Linked DNA regions of Homo sapiens: all the other regions are linked to region 6. The links are contacts of gene promoters, found by promoter capture Hi-C in blood cells and fetal thymus (Javierre and others, 2016). All regions are on one chromosome and are shown on one strand. The core of a region is centred on a gene start or on the middle of the fragment in contact, and the rest is flanking DNA. Distances in the headings are between cores, read along the strand shown. Region 1 has its middle 590 kb from the start of HULC. Region 2 overlaps LOC100506207 (a long non-coding RNA gene). Region 3 has its middle 240 kb from the start of HULC. Region 4 overlaps LOC100506207 (a long non-coding RNA gene). Region 5 overlaps LOC100506207 (a long non-coding RNA gene). Region 6 holds the start of TFAP2A-AS1 (TFAP2A antisense RNA 1).

What was found. The method cuts DNA at HindIII sites, captures the fragments that hold promoters and counts their contacts. A CHiCAGO score of 5 or more calls a contact.
Region 1: a fragment that was not itself captured here is called in contact with the fragment with the promoter of TFAP2A-AS1 in region 6 in 1 of 17 cell types (endothelial precursors); the score reaches 5.2 in endothelial precursors.
Region 2: a contact is called between a fragment that was not itself captured here and the fragment with the promoter of TFAP2A-AS1 in region 6, in 2 of 17 cell types (M0 macrophages and megakaryocytes). The highest score is 9.4, in M0 macrophages.
Region 3: a fragment that was not itself captured here is called in contact with the fragment with the promoter of TFAP2A-AS1 in region 6 in 1 of 17 cell types (M1 macrophages); the score reaches 5.1 in M1 macrophages.
Region 4: a fragment that was not itself captured here is called in contact with the fragment with the promoter of TFAP2A-AS1 in region 6 in 1 of 17 cell types (M2 macrophages); the score reaches 8.3 in M2 macrophages.
Region 5: a fragment that was not itself captured here is called in contact with the fragment with the promoter of TFAP2A-AS1 in region 6 in 1 of 17 cell types (M2 macrophages); the score reaches 6.0 in M2 macrophages.

What each region holds. Positions count from the first base shown.
Region 1 is chr6:9,244,912-9,247,611 of GRCh38, reverse strand. No RefSeq gene overlaps it. Among named protein-coding and RNA genes, the nearest start is that of HULC, 590 kb to the right of the region's middle. The HindIII fragment of the contact is 337 bases long and covers 1,095-1,431 here.
Region 2 is chr6:8,706,852-8,709,551 of GRCh38, reverse strand. The region is part of intron 3 of LOC100506207 (a long non-coding RNA gene); the gene reads right to left. Among named protein-coding and RNA genes, the nearest start is that of HULC, 56 kb to the right of the region's middle. The HindIII fragment of the contact is 423 bases long and covers 1,105-1,527 here.
Region 3 is chr6:8,888,280-8,890,979 of GRCh38, reverse strand. No RefSeq gene overlaps it. Among named protein-coding and RNA genes, the nearest start is that of HULC, 240 kb to the right of the region's middle. The HindIII fragment of the contact is 724 bases long and covers 900-1,623 here.
Region 4 is chr6:8,723,952-8,726,655 of GRCh38, reverse strand. The region is part of intron 3 of LOC100506207 (a long non-coding RNA gene); the gene reads right to left. Among named protein-coding and RNA genes, the nearest start is that of HULC, 73 kb to the right of the region's middle. The HindIII fragment of the contact is 3,097 bases long and covers 1-2,704 here.
Region 5 is chr6:8,437,857-8,440,556 of GRCh38, reverse strand. It overlaps LOC100506207 (a long non-coding RNA gene), which reads right to left. Exons shown (of 5, transcript NR_038980.1): 2 at 2,526-2,617. Among named protein-coding and RNA genes, the nearest start is that of SLC35B3, 3.7 kb to the right of the region's middle. The HindIII fragment of the contact is 6,003 bases long and covers 1-2,700 here.
Region 6 is chr6:10,410,907-10,413,626 of GRCh38, reverse strand. TFAP2A-AS1 (TFAP2A antisense RNA 1) reads right to left here and starts at 1,309. Exons shown (of 3, transcript NR_033910.1): 1 at 1,260-1,309. All of the region lies in intron 1 of TFAP2A (transcription factor AP-2 alpha), which reads left to right. RefSeq lists a silencer at 710-1,069. The HindIII fragment of the contact is 20,769 bases long and covers 1-2,720 here.

The DNA.
Region 1 (2,700 bases), core at 14-2,513, 1.2 Mb after region 6:
AGATTTCTGATTAAAAATTTCATGTTGCATATATAACTGTATTACATGGTTTCTAAGCCTGGTGCACAGGCTGGATTATCCTATACTCTACTGGTTGAAGAATCTTGATATAAATAATTTTATTCTCATATTTTCCAGTCATGAAAATTTACATCTTATAATAAAATCATAAATATTTGTCTTCCAAGAGCAAACAGATTGCTCTCTATACATCTAATTTTTCCTATATTCTCTACCAATAAGATTTTAATAAGAAATATTACCACTTACTTACCCTCCCAAATACTTGCAAATTATTTTCTTTATAAAATTATAATATATATATATAGTTAATTAAAAACTGAGACTTCCATACCTACAAGTTAAGAAAAAAAAGTTCTGTAACTATTCAGACTATTACTCACTCAAAATACTGTATATATAAAAAGAAAAACATGTTGAAAAGTTGATAATTAACTCAAATAAAAATCAATGTGACATTCGTTTGTAGTTATTCATATCATTTTTCTAAACTTCAAAGCAGCAGCAGCATCTAAATGTTTGCCCAAAGTTCCCAATTTTGGCTTTAACTGTAGCTATTTAGCTTGTAAAGCACAACGCTGGCCTAATTTCCAAGCTTTAGACCTTATTAGTGAACAAATTTCTATATTTAGAACCTCATATTACACTTGATTCTTCACATACCTGATTTTTAGTGCCAAGCTCCTGATTTAGGTTCCTAAATGCATATTTCAAGCTGCCAACTACTTCTTGTCATAATAGGATTAAGTTGTCTATTGTAGATCATAAAATAGATAAGATATGCCAAAACTGTTTATACAAAACTTTAAGACCATGAGCTAGTAGAGTTTCATTCACATTATTATCATAATCCTACAAAAACCTTAAAGTCATCATTAGTAATTGGTTAGGTTCATAAATTAGGTTACTAAATTAGCAGATCCAAAATAATACCAATGATTCCTTTTTCTTAAATTAAGAAAACTTGTATTTATAATAATTCTGCTAGATTTTCAGCATAAAAATTGGCCACCACCCAAGTTATCTGATATCTAAATATTTTACTTATGTAATGCTAGGACTAAAGGTAAGCTTTGGAAACAGCAAGCTCATTCTTTCATTTTATAGATGAGGTCAAGAAGCTCCTGATCACACAGAGAACTCAAGATTTCTGGTTTCTGGTGTAGACAGCTTGCTGCTACCTTTCCTGCATTTAACTCAAAGCTGAATAAATAATAATATCTTCTGGTGGAGTTCTCTAATAGAACTACATTCAAGAATTGTTGATCTATTTATACTAAAACTCAACTCTTTTCAAATCTGGATATAAGTCCATTTGAGAAATAAATAACTTCTGCATATGTTGACAGATTACGTGCCAGTGGCTTTGAGAGTAGAAAGAAAGAGTGGTTATGATAACCAAATGAAGCTTTCTATTCTCTTCCACGTTATGCCTGCTCCTGAGCCCCTTACTTTGTGTTGGTCATCTGGTTTGTCTATGGAAACAGCAGGCCTGCTGGTATTTTTATGCTCAGATCAAAATTACCCAGGGACAAAAATGCCCAACAGGGAGACACTTTTTGCCAGATTAGATCATTGGAGGTGTTGTCTTCACTAAGAAAAGGTGCAGGGGGGATCATGGGAAGAGACGCATTGGATGCATCTGATTCAAAAAAGTGCCTGAGACCAAGAGGACTAAGGTATCCAAGGCAAACCAAAGTCAAATTGAACGCTCTTTTACCTCTCTTCTTCCGCCCTTTCATTCTCATCAATTCATAGAAATGTAATTCTCCCTGGGCCACATCATCTTTGCTGTGGCACTTCGGTCCCTATCCCATTACTATCCTGAAACAGCTTGCTCCTTGCTTTGTTTCTACCCTTCTCTGATTCTGAAAAGGACAGAAAAGAGAACTATCTAGATGTCACTCAAAACCATATTGAATTCCTTAAATAGAATCAACATGGGAAGCACCTTCACCTAAAGCACATGTGTTCCCCAACATCAGAGAATTCATGGGGGAAAACAAAGGGAATGGCCTCCCCGAGGATTTATCCCCAACACCACATCAGAGAGACAATGAATGTGACAGATTAAATGCACCGGCTTCTTCAGTTAGAGTTGTTTTTGCTTTGGCATGAGAAAACTGAAAGTTCTTGAATGTTACGGAATATCTCCTATGTCAAGCCTTCCCTTGTTTTCCCAAGGACATAAAAGTTTCCCTCGCCTCTTTCCTTCTAAAAAATAGGTCTTTTCAGGCTGGGTGCAGTGGCTCACACCTGTAATCCCCACACTTTGGGAGGCTAAGGCAGGTGGATCACTTGAGGTCAGGAGTTTGAGACCTGTCTGGCCAACATGGTGAAACCTCATCTCTACTAAAAATACAAAAATTAGTCAGGCATGATGGCACATGCCTGTAATCCCAGCTATTTGGGAGGCCGAGGCAGGAGAATCACTTGAACTCGGGAGGCAGAGGTTGCAGTGAGCCAAGATCATGCCATTGCACTCCAGCCTGGGCGACAGAGTGAGACTCCGTCTAAAAAAGAAAAGAAAAGAAAAAAAAATAGGACTTTTCCATCTATCAGGCACTGACTACATTGTCCTGTAATTAGTAACTTATGAGCCTGCCCCTAGCACCCCACCAAGCTGACAGATAATTGAGAGGAGAGCCCATGATATCTCCATCTTTCTGTGTAGTTCAG
Region 2 (2,700 bases), core at 67-2,566, 1.7 Mb after region 6:
CTCATGCTTCTATTTCTCTTGTCCTGAAAATGTGTCTCCACACCTGGTTAACCAAAGCACTGTTTTAAGTAATGAATGAAAATATATGGGCATGTGAATGCGCATACACAGTATGTGTGTGGAGGCTTGTGTAACATTCTATTCTTCTCCTCTGAAGCATATTGATGAAAATGAGTGTTTTTACAGGTAGTCTTAAATTTTCCTGCACTTAATTGTGTACACAGTATATTTTGAGCAGACTTATCTACTTAATTTTGTTTGACTTAGAGTATTACTAGTGTTCACTATCCTCTTGAATTATTTCGGGAAGTGGAGAGAAAGTAATTTTGTTTGAAAATATGCCTGCACTCATCAACATATATGTAATAATAATGGCTAATATTTGTTGTATAGCAAACTGTATTATAATGGCAATATTTATGGTATAACAGGCTCTATGAAGCAAGTACTTTTATTATCCTCATTCTACAGTTGGGAAAACAAGATCTTATGGAGGGTTAAGTAATGTATATTATATCACATAAAAGCTGAGATTTAGCTAGTCTAGAAATTATACCTAAATTAAGGGAATGTAGTTTTCAGATAGGTTCAAGAAGCAGAATAATTACTAACTTTAGGATACACTCATTATGGACCCTATTCTGATTCTTCAGTGACTGCATGCGCAGCAAGGATCCTCTAACCTCTTCTCTATGAAATAGAATATTGTGTAAAACAAATGTTTTATGCTACTTCTTCTGTGCTTAAAATACACCTGCGTGTTATAAGGTGTTCTAGAGGGATCCAGGTTTACCAGGTAACTGTAGATACCAAATCCTGCCACTGTCAAGAGTCTTTAATAGAAGAGACACCCAAACCTGCTTCAACACTGCCCTATTTTCCATGATTTCTTAAAGATTCTAAATAGAATCCATCATTTGATAAGCCATGGGGAATAGTGTACTTTCAGATTGAGCAATTCTCCCATGAATAATCTAATTTGCTTTTCAGTTTGGAAACTCCCTCACTCACTGCTTCAGACTTTTAAGGGGTTTAGGATAGAAAGGAAAGGAAAGATTAAGTAAATACCTGAAGCAGCAACAACATTTTGGATATATCAAAGCTTCTACTTATTAGATTTAAACACAATGAATTTCCCAGAAAGGCAAAGAGGAGTGGCTCTAACTATGCCAGGGGGAACAGGAGTGCCAAGAGACCTGAGTGGCAGTTTGCTTGGCTCTGTGACAATGATTTTGCTCAAATGCTCCCCACCTTGCTTCCGAGCAGTGCAACAGCCTCGGTTCAAACAAAGCACTTACACAGCCTCACCTGTGGGTTGCCAACACCTCGCAGGGTGGAATCCTGGCTGTCAGACAAAACTCCGACTGAAAGTTCATTTCATAAATGCTTCCAAGTCAAAAAGCCATTTTTACTGGGCTGGTTTCAAGCATATCGCTGCCAAGACTTAAATTTCCCATCTCACACTGCCATCTACTGTCTAAGGTCCAGTGCTCTTAAAAAAAAGAAGAAGGAATGATACACCAAGCTTTCCAGGAGTCCAGGGCATTATTCGTGGATGCTCTTTTCAGAGTCCCTCTTGAACGGTAATCAAGTCTGATTGCTTTTATGTTCACCAATAACGCTATACTTCAGAGTCATATGAAATGCATGTGGACCAAAACCACATGCATTTGTGTGTGTGAACTCATGTGAGAAAAAAAAAATATAGTCTGTTTTAAAAGAATTGGAACCACCATTAGTTAGTATCCAGGGGAAATAGACCCAAGAGATCATGATTGAGAGTCATTGCCTCATTGTTTTAATTGTAGAAAAACAAAGCTGTCTCGAACTGACTGGACTTCATTGACATTAATGTGGTCTCATCCTACTAGACCTTGGCAGCTAACAAGAATCTTGAGAAATGAACAGTCAGGACTAGACAATGTCAGGATGCCCATCCAAGTCCAAGGGCGCCTTCAATCATCGCAGAACACTGATCCACTGCGGGCCTTGCATGTGCATTTCCTCCTTCCACCACTGATCATTTCCCCAAGACCAGGCTCTTTCACTTTTAGATAAATTGGCCCAAAACCCAGTGCTTCACTCTCTCCTTCATAGAGGGAGGGAATTCCCAGTCATCACTGCCACAAAAAATAAGCATTTTTCTGATATAACTGTATTTATCATTTATCATGCACCATCAATTAGTTGTTGTTTTGTTTTTTAAAGGGGCAATGGGAAGTCATAAACAAGTCTTGTATTAGAACTCCAAAGAGCTAGTCTTCATCATGACTTTGGCACTTAGCATAAGGATGCATGACCTTGGATAAGGCACTTGATGTCTGCAAACCTCAGCCTCTGTTTCTCTATTTGAAAATGGGGATAATAATTATTTCCCTTCCTGCCTTATAGGTTGAAAGAAAATAATTTAAGTAAGCTATACAACTTGAAATTTGCTAAGAGGATATATCTTAAGTATTCTCACCACCTCCTCATCGAAAAAAGAAAAAGGAAGAAAGAAAGAAAACTATCTGAGGTAATGGATATATTATGAGCTTTATTGTGGTGATTATACATATATCCATCAAATCATGAAATTGCACACCTCAAATATTTAGTTTTTAGTTGTCAAATAAGTCAATAAAATTTAAAAACTTACCAAAAAAGCTACACAGAAGTGAATGATCATTAATATTAACACTGTAACTTAACTCTGCATGC
Region 3 (2,700 bases), core at 12-2,511, 1.5 Mb after region 6:
TAAAGCATGCCAATGAGTTTAACAGGTACTCATTTTTTAAATCAGTAATCAAATAGCTGTGATTAATTAGTAGGCACACATAAAATTCACAGAAAGTAAATGTCCAGGCAGGGCACGGTGGTTCATGCCTGTAATCCCAGCACTTTGGGAGGCCGAGGAGAGCAGATCACAAGGTCAGGAGTTTGAGACCAGCCTGACCAACACGGTGAAACCCCGTCTCTACTAAAAATACAAAAATTAGCCAGGCGTGATGGCATGTGCCTGCAGTCCCAGCTACTTGGGAGGCTGAGGCAGGAGAATCACTTGAACTCGGGAGGCAGAGGTTGCAGTGAGCTGAGATTGCACCACTGCACTCCAGCCTGGCAACAGAGTGAGACTCCATCTCAAAAAAGAAAAAAAGAGAATAAATGTCCAAGTAAAACTGGACCTGTAATTATTTGCACATTAATAAGAATAGCCTTTCCTTAAAGCCCATAAAATAACCTCAAACCAAACATCGAGAACAGCTCTGTTCCTGAGGAAATCTCAGGGCCAAAAACTGTTATCCATTGTACCTATTGCCAAAGTAACACTACCTTTTAGGGGAACTTATTTTCAATGGTGATCATACAAAGGAACAGGTCATAAAGTTTGTATTGCCCTATTGGGAAATTTCTAGAGTTTATTTGTAAGAAACAGGCTTCTTAGGCTTATTGCAATAATAGAAAAGATAGACACAAAATACCTCCAAAAATGGAGGGTTTTAACTACCACCAATAAGTCAGCTGTTGTTCAAAGAGAACAGAGATAAGAAGATATGAACATCAATGCAGGTTATTATTACCAAATGGAGCTCACTAAGCTCAGCATCCCTGACACAGTGTATTTTAGACGCTATAAATTTCAACCTAGGCCAAGCTTTACAGAAACTTTTAAAAAAATTTTTATTATGAGTTCAGGGATACAAGTGCAGGTTTGTTACATAGGTAAACTTGTGTCATGGGGGTTTGTTGTACTGATTATTTTATCACCAGGTATTAAGCCCAGTACTCATTAGTTATTCTTCCTGATCCTCTCCCTCCTCCCACCCACCACCCTCCGAAAGGCCTCAGTGTGTTGTTCCTCTGTATGTTTCCATGTGTTCTCATCATTCAGCTCCCTCTTATACGTGAGAACATCCAGTATTTGGTTTTCTGTCCCTGTGTTAGTTTGCTAAGGATAATGGCCTGGAAGACAACTTAGGCAACACTATTCAGAACATAGGCATGGGCAAAGATTTCATGACGAAACTGCCCAAGGCAATTGCAACAAAAGCAAAAATTGACAAAGGCGATCTGATTAAACTGAAGAGCTTCTGCACAGCAAAGGAAACTACCGACAAAGTAAACAGACAACCTAAAGAATGGGGGAAAATTTTTGCAAACTATGCATTCTGGAAACGTGTTTTCTAAAGCAAATAGATACATATCTCTTCCATCTTAGCATCCTCATCTTCGTGTACGTATGTATGTATACATAAAATATGAAACAGAACAAGATAAAATATAACTCATGTCTATATTCTTTATATGTTCAAGTCCATTTCTATGTTTATCTTTTTTTCTCATTTCACCAGAGCTTATTTGTGCTAAAATTGATGAAGCTTATCCAATAATTAAAACTGTGGTTGAAGAAGATACAATGGTTCTGAAGTATCTTTCTTTGTCAAGCAACTCTATTTGGTACAGGGATTAAAGTCAGACGACAAATGTGACCTAGTTTCAACATTAAAACGTTCCTAATTTAGAAATTAAAATGCCTTAGTTACACTACCTATAAAATGAAGATAAAGATTCTAAAGAATTCCTTAATGATTTATATAATAAAACATTTATAAATCACATCATAGACGAATGTAAAATAGTAATGACAAAGCATTCATCACTCTGATACCAATGAGGTGTCTCCGCTTTCATATTTTCAAATGGAAAATAGTATATATTCATTTCTATTTTTATTTGATAGAGAACATTATGTGATATTCTGCTAATTATTTCATTTTATAATTACACTTTGCTTAGCCAAAAGTTAAAATCCACTTGTTTTACTTGAATGTAGAGGAAGAACCCCAGGAACAGATATTCACTGCAAGGGATATTATCCTGGAATTTAAACAATTCAACACCATCTCGTACATGAGCTCATTCAGTTGTATGTGTTTATAAACTCCCCTATGGGACATTGGATAATTATATTCATTCATCCATCACTCATTCACTCACTCTTGCATTCTTTAACAAGAATTAATTGAGCACCTATTATAAACTGTAACTTGCAGGGTGCAGTAATTTTCTAGGGCTGCTGTAACTAACTACCACTAGGTGGCTTAAAACAACAGAAATGTATTCTGTCTGAGCACTGGAATCTATAAACCCAGCGTCAAGGTATCAACGGGACCATGCAAGTCTCAGACTCTGGGTAGAATCTTCCCTTACCTTTTTCTAGTTTCTGCAGGTGGCCTCCAATCCTTAGTGTTTCTTGGCTTGCAGCTGCATCTCTTCAATATCTGCTTCTGTTGTCACCTGGTATTCCTGTGTGTGTCTCCACATTCATTTGGCATTTCTCTCTTCTTACAGATACCAGTCATGTTGGATTAAGGGCGACCGTACTCAAGCATGACCTCATCTTAATTTGATTACATTTGCAGAAACCCTATTTCCAAACAAGATAACATTTCAGATA
Region 4 (2,704 bases), core at 202-2,701, 1.7 Mb after region 6:
CATAGACTCATTTTAATTTACACCTAAACTTCAGGAAACATACATCACTATGAAGTCCTTTAATAAAAATGACAGATAAATGAAAATAAACGACTTGATTTAAAAAAAGAAAAAAACAGATTTTTCACCTTTACTTTTAATGAGAGAATCAGAAGTTTTGTTCTCCCTTGAAGTTAAATATAATTTTGTGTTGTATCAAATGTTTAGCACCTTTCTCTGCAGCTCCGAAGCAGCCCAAATGTAATTTGAGCTAATTCATGAAATGTAGTTTGTGTAACGATATTTATTGCCTGTGAGATAAATACTCAAAATATATCAGATTTATTGATGTCTTGAGAAAGTGGCATTACGGCTGCTTAGAGTGAACCTCTGGGCTAAATGAATATTCAGAGAAGTGAAAGCAGACCGCTGGTATGTGCCTTAAGAAAAAACAACAACAAACAGAAAAATAGCCGGGAAAACGAAATTGCCTACAGTCTAGCTATTTTAGAGTGACGTGTTTAACATCGATTGCAATAGAGATCTGAATGTGGGTAATGCAGAAACCTTTTCTATAAAAATGGGCACAATAGAATAAGGATACGCAGAGTAGGATTTGTGTTATTTCGGTTCTCTTCTTAGAAAATAACGGGCAAACAACGCCTGAAGAATTTATGAGCAAAAAGCTCTTGAGTATGTTTTTATGGCATTGTAGAATGAAAGAAATCATGCTCAGTTCTCAGACAAGATCAAGACAGAAGGACGACCCTGACCAACGTGGTGACACCCCGTCTCTACTAATAATACAAAATTAGCCGGGCATGGTGGCGGGTGCCTGTAATCCCAGCTACTCAGGGGGCTGAGGCTGGAGAATCTCTTGAGCCTGGGAGGCGGAGGTTGCAGCGAGCCGAGATCGCGCCATTGCACTCCAGCCTGGGTGACAGAGAGAAACTCCGTCTCAAAAAAAATAAAAATAAATAAAACAAACAATAAAATAATGCTATGAGTTAAAGTTTGCAAATCAATCATTATTTTTAGAATTTGAAGGATGTAAAGGAAATAAATACTTTAGATAAGTTTGTTGCCTAAATGGCTTCATAAGAAATTAAGGAGAAAGCCCTCAACTGAAAAACTGTTGGTTCATTGGGTTTAAGTTACTCTTCACTAAATAGTAGTTTGCTTTCTACTTCCCCTACCCACACCCTTTGCGATATATCTAATTTCAGAATTGGTAGAAATATATCTAATATATTTTTCACTTAAGTTTTTAATTTTAAATTCACTCTTAAAATTTATATTTGTTTCACTTTCCAATCTGCTTTCTTTGTTTCTGTAACAGAGATACAATCCATTTCTTCATCTATGAAAATTCTAAACATTACCATTTAAGTTCTTTTTCAGATTTTTCTATTATCTGCAGTCTCAAGAGGATTTTCCTGTTGGTTGCATTTGGTTTTCAGTTTTAGCTTAGGGTGATGTGTCAGTTTTATGGTATCAGTTTCTTGTCCATTTTATAGAACTTTTTTACCTGTATTCACAGTAGCATGGAATTCTAGTTTCTCACAAGGGCTTCTGTTTCTATCTATAACTAAGGGTGGGTGCATGGCTTCCAGGAGACTCCCTTAGACATTAGATTTGGTAGTGGTTTTATCCAGGTTAAAAGATAAAACAACACTTCCACATCCCACAGTGTCTTAGACCCATTGGTACGGAAACCCAAACACCTAAGAAAAATATCCAGCCTGAAAGCCCTGAAACACCCCAGGCAGGCTGTGGTTCAATTCCGTGACTCTGCATTTCTTTTTCTGGCAACTCAAGATTTCCCTTTTCCTGTTTTTGAGCTTAGCCAAATATTTTGCTTTGTTTTGTTTTAAACAAGCCCTGTTTTATCCAGAATTCCATATATCTGGGATATAGACACAGCCGCCCAAGTCAGCTTTGTCTGTGGCAGGGCACCAAAGAGAGGCAACAACATTCCTGCCACTTTTTCTTTAATATCAATGTGGTTTTTACTTGTAAAAGCCAGTCCATGCAACAAAATCAGAATACATTCTACCAGCAGAGTGACAATGAAAAACATCAATTACTATGGGCCATGTTTCCTAGGCATGTGATTGTTCACATAATTTTAGAAGCTGAATTATGTAGATAATAAAGTTATCAGATAGCACTAATGTCTTAAGCCTGGAAAGAAAGAGAAGTACTACTCACTAAAAAGAAATTGTAGCCAGAGGATACTAAATAATAATATAGTTGTGTATGGACAGCATATTAAGCAATTGGTGGTGGTGATGTCTGGGAATTGGGGGATATGTGTGTGTGTGTGTGTGTGTATGTGTGTTTGGGAGATTTTAGTTTCATTCCGATTTTTGGTTTTAAGTTTTGTTTATTTGAATCAGCATCCTTTCTCCTGGCTGTTTTTCCATAGTCAGTCTTGGTTCACTGAGACTTTTTTCATTAAAGCAAGTAATAGTTTTCCTCTTCATTTTTTCTTTTAGACCAAGACTGAAATTGGCCTGCAGATCAAAGACCATGGCAAAAAATTCCTGACATTGGAAACTGCCTTCCAAAACATCCCTGTGCCTCATCCCTTTCTACACATTCCATATAAAGAGATTGTTTCATTTTCCACCTGGCAACGCTTAAATTGTTTTATTTTTCTTCATTAAAACCACCACGCCTCTTCATTTAACTCATGTTTTAGTACCTTGATTCAGCAGGATCA
Region 5 (2,700 bases), core at 117-2,616, 2.0 Mb after region 6:
TTACTTGTGTAATTAATTATCTCCACCACACAAGGCTGTGAGCTTTGTGAGGGCAGGGATCCATGTCTGTCTTGTCATCCACATATCCACAATACCCAGTAGCATGCAGAGTAAGTGCTCAATAAGTATTTATTAAATGGATATTTAATGAAAATCAAATTAACTAGTTTTTCTGCTCAGTGCATCTGGAACCATATATCTATCAATGAACTTCCTAGTTTGGAAATGCTATATAACCTATTCCTTATGGAAGAGCTAGAAAAGTGACAACTGATGACTATATATAAATGGATTATTCTAATGATAGTAGGCTATATTAATAAGAATATTAATAGCTAACTTTTACTAAGTGTTTGTCAGGTAATAGGTGTTGTGCTAACCATTTAACCATCTTTAAACATCTTTCACTTACTCATCACTACAATTTACCACATAGGTACTACTGTCATTCCCATTTCACAGATGGGGAGATTGAGACTTAGAGAATTTAAGCAATTTGCACAAAGACACTCAAAGAGCAAGGGGTGGTGCAAGGATTTAAATTTAATCTGACACTAGAACCTGAGACTTAACTATGCAAGATGATTCTTCACAGACACATGACTAAGTAACACCAATTGACACGAACTGACATTGTTGATCACTCCTTCCTCCTTTAAACATTGTCTTCACCTGGCTTTTAGAAGACTGTACATTCCTGGACCCATCCTATGTCAACAGCTGCTTCTTCTAAGTCTCCACTGCTGGTTTCTCTTTCTCGCTCCCCCAAGTCACATGACTTGATTATCTAGGACATCCTAAAATACATAAAAACACCTCCCAAAAATTGCTCCTAGGAAATGGAAGGCATTTATCCATAGGTGCCCATTCCCCATTGGTGGATCATTGCCTGGGGGTGTTAATGCCACCAAACTTCCCAAGGGCCAGGTGTGTGTGTGTGTGTGTGTGTGTGTGTGTGTGTGTGTGTGTGTCAGGAGTGACGGCATCTCAACCCTATCTGAGCACTGTTCCTGAAAAGGATACTTGCTGATGTTCACAAAACAATGTCAGTGTTCTATCAGGCCAATTTCCTCCAGTTGATACAATATATGGTAGGACCAGTGGAATTCCATGGTCGTGTGTCATTGTCACACCTCTTTTACCATAAAGTGTGTCCTTTAGTTGGAGGCAATACATCAGAAAATCATGTGTTTGGGCTGGGTGTGGTGGCTCACGCTTGTAATTGCACCACTTTAGGAGGCTGAGGTGGGCAGATCACTTGAGGTCAGGAGTTCACAACCAGCCTGGCCAACATGGTGAAACCGTGTCTCTACCAAAAATACAAAAAAATTAGCCAGGTGTAGTGGCAGGCACCTGTAATCCCAGCTACTGGGGAGGCTGAGGCAGGAGAATGGCTTGAACCTGGGAGGCAGAGGTTGTGCCACTGCATTCCAGCCTGGGCAACAGAGTGAGACTCTGTGTCAAAGAAGGAAGAAAGGAAGGAAGGAAGGGAGGGAGGGAGGGAGGGAAAGAGAGAAAGAAAGAGGAAGGAAGGAAGGGAGGGAGGGAGGGAGGAGATGGAGGGAAGGAAGGGAAAGAAAGAAAAAAGAAAGGAAGGAAGAAAAAAGAAAAGAAAGAAGGAAAAGAGAGAGAGAAAGGAAAGAGAGAAAGAAAGAAAGAAAAAGGAAGGAAGAGAAAGAAAGAAAAAGAAAAAGGAAGGAAGGAAGAGAAAGAGAAAGAAAGAAAAAGAAAAAGGAAGGAAGGAAGAAAGAAAAAGAAAGAAAAAAAGAAGGAAAGAAAGAAAGAAAGAAAGAAAGAAAGAAAGAAAGAAAGAAAGAAAGAAAAAAGAAAGAAAGAAAGGAAGGAAGGAAGGAAGGAAGGAAGTCAATCAATCATGTGTTTGTAACTCTGTTATATAATGGTACTGGCAGAGGCACCATGAACAAGACCAGTCATATCAAGGGAAGTGTCAGTTCCGTAAGTACAAACCACGGCTCTCTCCAGGAAGGAAGGACTTTTGTGTAATTGCTCTCCTTATGGAATTTACCATCAATCTTTGCTGCTGATGGGCTGGACATCCAAAGAGGCAGTAGTCATATCGGCTTTAGTAAGAAAGAGCCTTAATTGTTGGGCCATGCACATGTCCTCCCCTTAATATCACTAAGAAAGTCCTTGTTGTCATCTGACTGCAAAGTAACCCACTTCCAGAGTTCTGAGGAGCTGCATTCTAGACTTTCTTCTTACATCAAATTTCTTAGCTTGGTTTCCCTCAAAACCTGAGACAACTACTTATGTGGGGACAGGTAATTTGGGATGTGATCCTAGTGAGAAACAATGAGAGAATGGAAGGGAGAATATAGACATAATACAAGAATGTGTTATTGAAGTTGCTGTTGTGAGAAACCAGAACCCAATTTCACTGGGACTTTTTGAAAAACACACAGAATGGCCTACAAAACTATCTTGCTCAAGTGTAAGAAGCAAGAGCATTTATCCATCAGTGACTGTCACCCCTTGGTTGAAGGGCCCCAGATGTGTTGACTTACCAGCACTTCAAAGCTGTGCAGGACAGGAGCTGAGAGAGCTACTGCTGGAATGTGTGAAGTCCGAAGAACCTCAGGGAAGAAAGCAAAGAGGCCTGGTAAATGTGGGAGAGGAGAAGCTGTCAGGGAGAAGAATGTGTAAGATTGCATGAAACTGCCCCCCACAACCAAGTCAGAA
Region 6 (2,720 bases), core at 60-2,559:
GTCGCGCTAGAGGAGGGGCGCAGGGACCCCACGTCAGACCAGTCGCTTTGTTTTCGAGGCTGGGGGCGAGCTTTGCGGGCAGGTAGGAATGAAGCCGAACCCCTCAGTCTCATAGGACAATTCATACTGTACTGGTCTGGGCTTTGGCCGGAGGCTTGGGCATTTCACTTTCGCAGAGGCCGAAACCCAGCTCCAGGTGTGGGCGCCCTCGGCGGGCGGGGTCCGAACCTCCGTGCGGCTCTAGGTGCCGACTGGATGGGGTGGGTGGCTAGGTGGGGGATGAACTTGCACCCCTAGAGGGATCCTGTGGGGGCAAGTGTGAATGCGTGTGTAAGCGAGGCAAAAAAAGATGAGAGAGAGAGGAGAATAAAGTCAAAGCTGTTTCCACAACTTTGGCCGTGGTGGGCAAGCGCCGGAGCGGGGATTTCGGGTTTCGGAGCTGGCTTGGGGCAGTCTGATTGTGCCGGGGCTCTGTAGGGACACGCAGGAGGCGAGGTGCCGCTTGTTCTGACAACCTGGCGGGTAGACTGGCAAAGGCAGCACGCCGGGAGAGCTAGTCGTGTCATCTGGGGGGGCGTCAGGCGGGAGTGGCCCAGCCAGTCGGACGGGTTTTTGCCGGGAGCCGCGAGCCGGTGCCAGCGGCGCCCGGGCTGGGCCGCCTAGCGTCTGTGCGCGCCCCGGCCCGCATCCCGGCTCCCGATCCGGAATCCCCGGCCCCAGAGAGCCGAGGGCAGAGCGACGGTGGCCGGGGAGCGCACGGTGCCCCTGTCCGAGGAAAGCTCAAGAGGAGGCCGAGGAGAGGACCAGTGCAGCGAGCGGGCCGGTCCCGGGCAGGGCGCCGGGTCATGGAGGAGCCGCGCAGCAGCGGGCAGCCGAGTCCCGAGTCCCAGACTCGGCTGCGAAGCGGCGGAGCCCGCGGCCAGACAGGGCCGGGAAGCGCCTGCCGCGCCGAGAGCCCCACGAGCGCCCGGACGCGGTCCCAAGCAGCTCCTACCCGCTACGCACGACCCCCGCTGCATCCCGAGGTCTGCCCCAGCCTTTTAGGTCTGATTGTCCTCGCTCGCTTCCTCTCCCCTTCCCCCTCCCCCGCGGCCTCCCCCTCCGTGCGCTCCGGCTGGGCCCCCTCCCCCTCCCTCCCTCCCTTCCTCCCTCCCTCTTTCCCTCCCTTCCTCCTCTCGGGCTCTCCCTCCTTCCCTCCCTCCCCTCTCCCCACCCGGGGCTCCTCTCCCTCGCCCACACTTTCTTTCTCACACACGCACGCAGACACATTCTCCCTCTCTGCGCTCTCTCCTTCGGTCTCCCTCTCTGCCTCTTTCTCTTTCACTTTTGCATGCCCTGCAACCTTTTAAAATGTTGCCCCTTCCCTGTGATTCGCCAGACGCCGCGCCGCGGCCCCCCGCGCGCTCGCCCGCTCCCTCTCTCGCTCGCTTTTTGTCTCTCGCGCTCCCTCTCCCCACTCCGATTTGCTACACTGAGACTCCCGTCAATGGACTGCATTGAGAGCCGGCTCCGGCGCGAGTTGCCTCTCCGCTTCACGCTCGATTTCCAGGCATTCTTCCCTTATTAAGTATTCGTGTAATATTAATAGTCATGAATATCTGCTATTAGGAGGCTCCAGGAACGCTGCCCAGCGCGGTTATTAGAAGCTCAAGCGAAGCCGCCGCTAAGAAAAGAGGGGGAGACACGGATTAAGGAACACGCACGCACCCACACACTCACACATACTTTTTCCTTTTTCCTTTTTTGGGGTTTTTCATTTTTAAAGAACTTTGAATCATAACCAGTCGCGGCAGGATAGAGACCGTGGGTTCGACCAGCTGAAGGCGCCGCGCGAATCGGTGGTTCAAGTTCGGATGGATCCGAGCCGGGCTCCCGCGCTCCGGGGAGCGTCGGCGCCGTGACTGGAGTCCTGGGTGGCGCGGGGCTCTCGGCGCCTTTTGTGTGGGGCGCGCTCGGGCGGCGGGGCAGCCGGGCGCTCCAGGCTTGCTTGTTTTTTTCCACCCTGACTCGTTACCCCAGACTCTTCGCAGATGTTAGTTCACAGTTTTTCAGCCATGGTGAGTCCCATCCCCACCCCCGTTGCTGTTTCTTTAGGAATTGGATTCTGGAAACCTGGTGCCGTGGAGCTGCCCGAAACCTCGGGTTTCACGCCCAGCTTTCCTTCAGGACACCCTCTCCATTTGCATCCCCCACCCCACCTTCCGCCTTTCTCTCGCTCTTTTCCATCCCTAAATCGAGTGCATTACCCCCTACCCCAGCCCCCGCTCGACCTCTCCGAGCACGCAGACCTACCTCGCCGCGGCTTCCCAAGGCGTGTTTCTCCCCACGTTCATCTTGATTTCCTTGAGTCTTCACTTGTCCCCGAGATGTTCTCAACATTTGATGCTTAAACTGTCTGCAGGAAAAGTGCAGCGCGGTGTGCCCCCTACCCTCGGGACCTGCGGCCGAACCGCCGAGGGTTCGCGGTCTCTGGAATCAACTCTCTTCGCTTGTTTTGCAAGGGAATTGCAATAGAGAAACCTAAAGTCAGGCGTTTCTTCTGCCCTTTGGGGCTGGGGTGGAAGGGGCGGGGGGGGGGGGCCACAGCCCCGGGGTGCACCTCTCTCTTTTAAACCCAATAAGGCTGAATCTTTCTATTTTAAACCTTGACTTGACGTCCCCCTTTCCCTATCCAAACCATAAATCGACTCTGTCGAGAAAAAGGCTCCTAACAGAGGAAG